Regions from separate parts of the Homo sapiens genome. Here all the other regions are linked to region 2. Evidence: promoter capture Hi-C in human tissues and cell types (Jung and others, 2019). All regions are on one chromosome and are shown on one strand. Each heading gives the region's core, a stretch centred on a gene start or on the middle of the fragment in contact. The rest is flanking DNA. Distances are from core to core; before and after follow the strand shown.

The links. The method cuts DNA at HindIII sites, captures the fragments that hold promoters and counts their contacts. A contact is called where the count stands out against the background at its distance.
Region 1: a fragment that was not itself captured here is called in contact with the fragment with the promoter of SEMA3F in region 2 in 1 of the 25 tissues and cell types used here (dorsolateral prefrontal cortex).
Region 3: a fragment that was not itself captured here is called in contact with the fragment with the promoter of SEMA3F in region 2 in 2 of the 25 tissues and cell types used here (heart right ventricle and psoas muscle).

What each region holds. Positions count from the first base shown.
Region 1 is chr3:50,094,371-50,097,070 of GRCh38, forward strand. All of the region lies in intron 4 of RBM5 (RNA binding motif protein 5), which reads left to right. Among named protein-coding and RNA genes, the nearest start is that of RBM5-AS1, 5.3 kb to the right of the region's middle. The HindIII fragment of the contact is 4,849 bases long and covers 1-2,700 here.
Region 2 is chr3:50,154,027-50,156,726 of GRCh38, forward strand. It overlaps SEMA3F (semaphorin 3F), which reads left to right and starts at 1,298. Exons shown (of 19, transcript NM_004186.5): 1 at 1,298-1,538. It overlaps LOC124909484 (basic proline-rich protein-like), which reads left to right and starts at 644. Exons shown (of 2, transcript XM_047449434.1): 1 at 644-670; 2 at 1,035-1,763. The coding sequence starts at 644. The coding sequence ends at 1,763. It overlaps SEMA3F-AS1 (SEMA3F antisense RNA 1), which reads right to left and starts at 2,059. Exons shown (of 4, transcript NR_135301.1): 1 at 1,708-2,059. RefSeq lists silencers at 573-632, 643-782, 813-1,282. The HindIII fragment of the contact is 29,271 bases long and covers 1-2,700 here.
Region 3 is chr3:50,197,254-50,199,953 of GRCh38, forward strand. It overlaps GNAT1 (G protein subunit alpha transducin 1), which reads left to right. Exons shown (of 9, transcript NM_144499.3): 9 at 1-443. Among named protein-coding and RNA genes, the nearest start is that of SLC38A3, 6.7 kb to the right of the region's middle. The HindIII fragment of the contact is 5,603 bases long and covers 1-2,700 here.

The DNA of each region.
Region 1 (2,700 bases), core at 1-2,500, 60 kb before region 2:
CTCCTGCCACCCGCCTCGGCCTCCCAAAGTGCTGGGATTACAGGCGTGAGCCACCTTGCCCGGCCAACACTTTAAATAATTTTATACACAAAACAATGTGTGCTTTGTTTTTTTGTTTGTGATATTTTTGTTTCTGTTTTTTACAGGCAGGGTCTCATTGTCACCCAGTCTGGAGTATAGCAATGCAATCATAGCTCACTGCAGCCTCAAACTCCTGGGCTCAAGTGATCTTTTTACTTCAGTAGCTGGCAGGTGCATGCCACCACACCCAGCTAATTTATTTTTTGTAGAGCCAGGCTGGGCTAAGTATGTTGCCTGGACTAAAAGGTTTGACTGCCCTCTTGTCTGTGACCTTTCAAATAAGGTCAGGGGTGGAATTTTCCACTTGTTGTGTCATGTTAGTGCTCAGAAAATTTCAGATTTTGGAGCATTTCAAATTTTTGGATTAGGGTTGCTCAACCTGTATCTATCTCAGCTAGTGAAATATTTTTCTGTCTTTAGGGAAAAGTTCACTGAACTAGGTTCAGAAGTAAGTTACCATTTTGGCCAGGCGCGGTGGCTCATGCCTGTAATCCCAGGCACTTTGGGAGGTCGAGGCGGGTGGATCACTTGAGGTCAGGAATTTGAGACCAGCCTGGCCAACATGGTGAAACCCTGTCTCTACTAAAAATACAAGAATTAGCTAGGTGTGGTGGTGCATACCTGTAGTCCCAGCTACTTGGGGAGGTGCTGAGACAGGAGAATGGCTTGAACCTGGGAGGCGGAGTTTACAATGAGCCAAGATCACGCCATTGCACTCCAGCCTGGGTGACAGAACAAGACCCTGTCTCAAAAACAAAAAGAAGTAAATTACCATATTTAGGCTTTGAAGCTCAATGTATGAGTTTTCTAAATGTCTTTAACCACAGGGAGCAGGTCTTCTGTCTTCATTAGCTCCTAGAAGATAATCAATATATTTTTATTGAATTAGTTACTTATTAGATGAGGATGATTGGTAAATACCTAATTTTCTTTATAATCTGGCCACCCTTTTATTTGTTGAAAATTGAACTACCCATTTGAAACCTCAGAAAAGCTTGTTAAAAAGGACGGCTCATTCAGACTGGCCAATTAGAGTCTTAGTGTACTTGGCACTGCCTGATTTCCAGCAGCATCTCTGGTCCTCACCCTTCCTTCCAGCCACACCCTACTTTCCACATCCTGGACTTTGGACATGTCCATTGCTCTACTGTTGTGCCTTTTTCTGCTTGGAGACGCCTGTATGTAAAGCCTGATCTATCGGGCAGAGCTTCTTCTTCGTTATTCTCTTCCTAAGGCACTGTATTCATGACTTTTGTGTAGCACCTTTACTGTAGCCATCAACACACATGTCTCATCTCTACCACAAGATCTCTGAAAATAGGCCTCTGTGTGAACTAGTCACCTCTGTGTCCCCAACCCTTGAACACAGTATGTTACTCAGCCAGTGCTCTTGGTAAAAATGAATGTGAGGTTTTAAAACAGCAGTGTGCCAGTATTTGTTTTCTTGGAGTAATCAAAGTAATATTCTGACTAATGTTTAGTTGAATTTTGGATAAAGCTCAAAATAAGCATTGGATTCCCGTAGCTTTGGGTTTCTAAACCCTGGAAGTAATGAATGTGACAAATGTGAGACAGGATATTAGAGTTAATAGTGGGTAATCATTCCATTATTTGTGATCCACTGCACATCTGCTACACTGTACATGTTAGATGCTACAGTGACACAGAGCTATGGATCTTGCCTCAAAAAAGCTTATGGATGAGTAGCTAAGGTCAGCAGATAATGGTGACAATGCAGAATAGAAAGGGGTCAGAGGCCGAGTATGGTAACTCATGCCTGTAATCCCAGCACTTCGGGAGGCCAAGGTGAAAAGAGTGCTTGAGCCCAGGAGTTCAAGTCCAACCTGGACAACATGGTAAGACGCATCTCTCCAAAAAAAAAAAAAAATAGCCAGTCTTAATGGCGCTTGTCTGTGGTCCCAGTTACTTGGGAGACTGAGGCAGGAAGATCACTTGAGCCTAGGAGGTCAAGGGTACAGTGAGTTGTGTTCACGCCACTGCACTCCAGCCTGAGCGACAGAGCAAGACCCTGTCTCAAAAAGAGGGTCATGTCGGAAAAGGTCCTATTGAAAGAGGTCTGCCTAAGAGCTCTTGAAGGTTATTTAAAGGAAATTGTTACTAGTGGAGGGTAAGGAATCTTCTATTTTTATTTTTGTGAGACAGGGCCTTACTCTGTCGCATAGGCTGGAGTGCAATCGCGTGATTGTGGCTCACAGCAGCCTCCAACTTTTGGGGCTCAGGCAATCCACCAGCCTCAGCCTCCCAAGTAGCTGGGATTACAGGCATGTGTCACCACTCCGAGCTAATTTTTTTTTTTATCGTTTGTTTTTTTTTTTGTAGAGACAAGGTCTCTCTTTATTGCCTAGACTGGTCTTGAACTCTTGTCTTCAATCAATCCTCCCGCCTGGGTCTCCCAAAGTGCTAGGATTATAGGCGTGGAAAACTAAGGGAATGGTGTGGTAGATGGGCCCTTCAGGCGGAGGGGTATCACATGAGCAGGGAATAGAAAGGTACTGAATCTAGATAAGGCCTAGCAATCGGCTTGATTTGGCTGGAGTCAGAGGCTTTTGGCAGGAGAGGGATGAGTGGCAAAGTGCTATTGTGGCTAGGGGCTAGAGT
Region 2 (2,700 bases), core at 48-2,547:
TGGAAAAGAGGGAGAAGAGGAGAGAGGAAGAGGGAGAAGAGAGGGGAGAAGGAAGGAGAGGCAGAGGGAGAAGAGGAGAAAGGAAAGAGGAGAAAGAGGAGGGCACAGAAGACAGAACAGGAAGAGGATGAAGGAGAGGACAAAGGGCCAACGCCCCTGGGAGCCTCCGCAGGGTGCCCGGGGCAGGGCTGAGAAGTGGTCCTGGTGGTGAGGCCATGACCTTGGAAAGTTGGGTTGGGCAGAGGGTCCCTTCCTGGGGTCACGGTAGGCCCTTCTCAGTTGCTGAGCCATTGGCTCATCACCAGGCCATTTGAAAGCAAATGTCCCCTTGAGGAGAGAAGGTGCTAGCTGATCTGGCCTCTCTAAGGTATGGAACTATAAGGAGAGTCTGTGGGAGCTGCTGGCCTGAAATAAGGGCTGGCGATTGAGGCGATCACGGGGAGTCGTTGAATGGCTGGAGAGAGCTGTGTGGCTGGGCTGCCCCCGACCTGGCCTAGGCTGGAGGCTGAGCCCGCGGGAAGGTCCGGCGGTGCCAGCCGTCCCAGGGGCTGCACCGCCACCTGCTGAGCAGCCCGGGCAGTCAGGGGTCCTGCGCCGCGGGGCCCACGCACGGGACCAGGGGCACGGCCGGCGGCGAGTGGGAATGAGGGACGCGGAAGGGGGTGCTCAGGTGAGCGCAGGCTCGTTGCTCCCTGGCGCTGCAGCCCTTCTCGCCAGGGAGTTGAATGCCCGGGTAAACACCAGGCGCGATGTGTGCGGTGTATTCACAGAGAGACAAAGCCAGGGCGGGGCGGGGGCGCCGCCCGCGAAGCGGGGGCGGGGGCGAGGGGTGCAGACTAGTCTCCCCCGGCGCGGGGTGCCCACCGCCTGGGAACCCTGAGCCCGGCCCACGGACAGGTGGAGCGGGGGCGGGGCGGTGGCTGGGCGGGTCCCGCCCCGGGGGTGGGGCTGGGCGGGCCGGGCGGGGCGGGGCTGCGCTATGCAAATGTCGCCCACGGGCGGCCAATTGCCGGCGCTCCCCGCGCGGCTCTGAGCGCCCCGTCCCGCCGGCGGCCGCGAGACCAGAGCGAGCGAACGAACCGCGGCGGTCCGGAGAGCCCCGAGCGCAGCGCAGGACCTGGGTACGCCGCGAGGAACCGTGCAGCCCAGCGCGGCCGCCCGGCCCGGGTCCAGCAGCCAGGAGAGCGCAGCGCTTCGAAGCCGAGTGCGCGCCACCGCCCGCGCCCCGCGCTGGGGAATGCGCCCTCGGCGCGCCGGCCAGGGGGCGCCCGCAGCCCACCCCAGGGGAGGCGGCCCCGAGCGCCCCTGAGCCTTCCCATGGCCCGGGCTGGGGCCCGGGCCCTCGGCTGCTGACGCGCCCGAAGCCCGCGGAACCGGTTAAGCCGCGGCCGCGGCGCCGATCCCGGCTGAGGCGCAGCGGCGAGAGGTCGCGGGCAGGGCCATGGCCCCGGGGGGCCGCTAGCGCGGACCGGCCCAACGGGAGCCGCTCCGTGCCGCCGCCGCCGCCCGGGCGCCCAGGCCCCGCCGCTGCGGAAGAGGTGAGTGCAGCGGGAACCGGGAGGGAGCGGGCAGGCGGCCGGGCCACCCCGCGACCCCTCTGGGACCCGCGGCACTGCAACTCCGCAGAAGTGTCCGGGGAGCGGGTCTCGTCGAGCCGGGGGGCTGCCCGCGGACATAGGGGCAACAAGGCTGGGGTGGGATTCTTACCTGTCCTGGAGGCCCGGACCCCTTACCTACGGGGCGGCGTATGGATGTGTGGATGATGTGGCCTGCGGGGTCACCCATGTGCAAAGCAACTTTTTCCTGCAAGGTTCTGGGTGGGTGCTCTCATACACCCCCACCTTCACGCTTCTGGAGCGGGAGTTCCGATCCCCCTTCTGCCTCAGCTCTCTCTCCCATTAACGCCCGAGGCAGCGCTCTTCCCCGTAGATGCGCTTGCCCTACCTCAGTGTCTCTACTTGAGGACTGGCCAGCCCGAAGGGAAGCGGTATACTGGCAGTCCCCACGTGGGGGGTCTCCCACATCAGCAGAGTGGGAGGACCTCCAGTCCTGAGGCATTTCTCCCAGCATTGTGCCAGCCCCTTGACCCCCAGCTGCCACCTTGGGTTTGCTTTTACAGCAGAGTCCTGCCTGGATTAGGGGCACGGCTGTATGTAGTGTGTAGGTGAGCTTGGAGAGCCTGCGGTCAATCCCTAGTTTGAACCAGGGGTCCCAGTGGTGAAGTGGGCAGGGGACAGCGGGGGCTTGGCGGGGTTGCCCCCAGCAGATGGGACAGGAGGGTATCAAAGTTGGCCTAGGAATGAGGCAGTGCTGGCGGGAGTTGGCTGGAGCTGGGGCTGGGGGCCCCACTGGATAAATAACTCCTAATTTTTGAGATAGCTGTGTTTTGCCACCAGAACATTACTGCTTGGGAGAGGTAAGGGAGACGCCAACCAAAGACACCAGTATGTCCACCCTGAAGCTGGGCCAGGTTGGGGACCTCTGTCCTCCTGAATTCACCCAGATAGTCTCCCAGTAGTTATCCTAGTTGCAGAGAAGGGAAAACTGCACCCAGGGGTTGGGAGCCCCATCTCAGCCCAGGGAGTTGGATGGAGCTGAGGCCTCTTCCCAGGCTACCCAAGGGGTGTGCCAGGACCCCGTAGGGTATAGTGTCTAGGCAGGCGGGGGGCACAGGCATGCCTACTCCTGCTGCTCCCCCTT
Region 3 (2,700 bases), core at 194-2,693, 43 kb after region 2:
CCGGTGTATAGTTTGGTGGTGTTAAGTACATTCATAATGTTGTACAACCACCGCAACTGTTCATCTCCAGAACTCCTTTCCTCTTGTAAAACTGTAACTCTGTACCCATGAAAAAATAACCCCCCATTCCTGCCTTCCCCCGGCTCCTGGCATCCACCATTCTACTTTCCATCTCTATGAATGTGACTGCTCTAAGTGCCTCAGATGTGTGGGTCCATGAAGTCTTTGTCTTTTTGCAACTGGCTTATTTCACTTAGCATCATGTCTTCAAGGTTTATTCATGTGTAGCATATGGCAGAATCTCCTTCCTTTTTAAGGTTGAATAATATTCCATTGTATATATTCCACACTTTGTTTATTTATTCATCTATTGATGAATGGTTACATCTGCCTTTTGGCTATTGTGAATAATGCTGCTATGAACATGGGTGTACAAATCTCTCTCCCAGCCTCTGTTTTTTATTATTTTGGGTGTATACCCAGAAATGGAACTGGCAAATCATATGGTGAATCTTTTTTTTTTTTTTTTTTTTTTGAGACAGAGTCTCTCTCTGTCGCCAGCCTGGAGTGCAGCGGCACAATTTCGGCTCCCTGCAACCTCCGCCTCCCAGGTTCAAGCAATTATCCTGCCTCAGTCTCCTGAGTAGCTGGGACTACAGGCACACGCCACCATGCCCAACTAATTTTTGTGTTTTTAGTAGAGACGGGGTTTCACCATGTTGTCCAGGATGGTCTCGATCTATCTCTTGATCTCAGGTGATCTGCCCACCTCGGCCTCCCAGAGTGCTGGGATTACAGGCGTGAGCCACTGCAACCGGCCTCATATGGTGAATCTATTTTTATTTTATTTATTTATTTATTTATTTATTTTGAGACGAAGTTTTGCTCTTGTTGCCCAGGCTGGAGTGGCAATGGCATGATCTCGGCTCACTGCAACCTCCTCCTTCCATGTTCAAGTGATTCTGCCTCAGCCTCCCAAGCAGCTAGGATTACAGGCATGTGCCACCACACCTGGCTAATTTTGTATTTTTAGTAGAGATGGGGTTTCACCATGTTGGTCAGGCTGGTCTCGAACTCCCAACCTCAGGTGATCCGCCTGCCTTGGTCTCCCAAAGTGCTGGGATTACAGGCGTGAGCCACTGCACCTGACCCCTTTTTTTGAAATGAAGTCTCACTCGGTCGCCCAGGCTGGAGTGCAGTGGCACGATCTCAGCTCACTGCAATCTCTGCCTCCCGGGTTCAAGTGATTCTCCTGCCTCAGTCTCCCAAGAAGCTGGGAGTATAGGCACCCACCACCATGCCTGGCTAATTTTTGTATTTAGTAGAGATGGGGTTTCACCATGTTGGCCAGGCTGGTCTTGAATTCCTGACCTCAAGTGATCTGCCCACCTCGGCCTCCCGAAGTGCTGGGATTACAGGTGTGAACCACTGCGCTCAGCCTACTTTTAATATTTTGAGGAACAGTTTTCCACAGCAGCTGTACCATTTTACATTCCCACCAACAGTGCACAGGTGGTCCCCCTTCCTCTACATATTTGTGAACTCTTGTTATTTTCTGGGTTTTGTTTTGTTTGAGATGGGGTCTCGCTCTGTTGCCCAGGCTGGAGTGCAGTGGCACAATCTCGGCTCTGCAACCTCTGCCTCCTGGGTTCAAGCAATTCTCCTGTCTCAGCCTCCCGAATAGCTAGGACTACAGCTGCATGCCAGCATGCCCGGCTAATTTTTTTTTTTTTTTTTTTGAGACGGAGTTTCATTCTTGTTGCCCAGGCTGGAGTGCAATGGTGTGATCTCAGCTCACTGCAACCTCCACCTCCTGGGTTCAAGCCATTCCCCTGCCTCAGCCTCCCAAGTAGCTGGGATTACAGGAATGCACCACCACATCTGGCTAATTTTGTATTTTTGGTAGAGACGGGGTTTCTCCATGTTGGTCAGGCTGGTCTCAAACTCCCGACCTCAAGTGATCCGCCCGCCTCGGTCTCCCAAAGTGCTGGGATTACAGGCATGAGCCACCGCACCTGACCTATTTTTCTTTTTTAATAGTAGTATCTCTTGGTAGTTTTGATTTGCATTTTCCTACTGCTTAGTGATGTTGAGAATCTTTTCCTGTGCTTATTGGCCATCTGTATATCTTCTTTGGAGAAATGCCTGTCCAAGTCCTTTGCCCATTTTTGAATTGAGTTATTTTAATGTTGTTGTTGAGTCTTAGAAGTTCTCTATATATTCTGGAGAATAATTCCTTATCAGAGATAGGATTTGCAAATTTTTTTCCCACTCCGTGGGTTGCCTTTTAAACTCATTTTATGTATTTTTAATGGTTAATTTTTTTCCAGAACATTAAATAGTTGAAAAAACTTGTAAAAGTAGGTATGTTAAAACTCACATTATTTTAAGCTTGAATATTTTATTTATAACTTAAACAGAATTTTTTTTTTTTGAGATGGAGTTTCACTCTTGTTGGCCAGGCTGGAGTGCAATGGCGTGATCTTGGCGCACAGCAACTTCTGCCTCCTGGGTTCAAGCGATTCTCCTGCCTCAGCCTCCTGAGTAGCTGGGATTACAGGCATGCACCACCACGCCCGGCTAATTTTGTAGTTTTAGTAGAGACCGGTTTTTTTCATGTTAGTCAGGCTAGTCTTGAACTCCCGACCTCAGGTGATCTGCCCGCCTCACCTCCCAAAGTGCTGAGATTGCAGGTGTGAG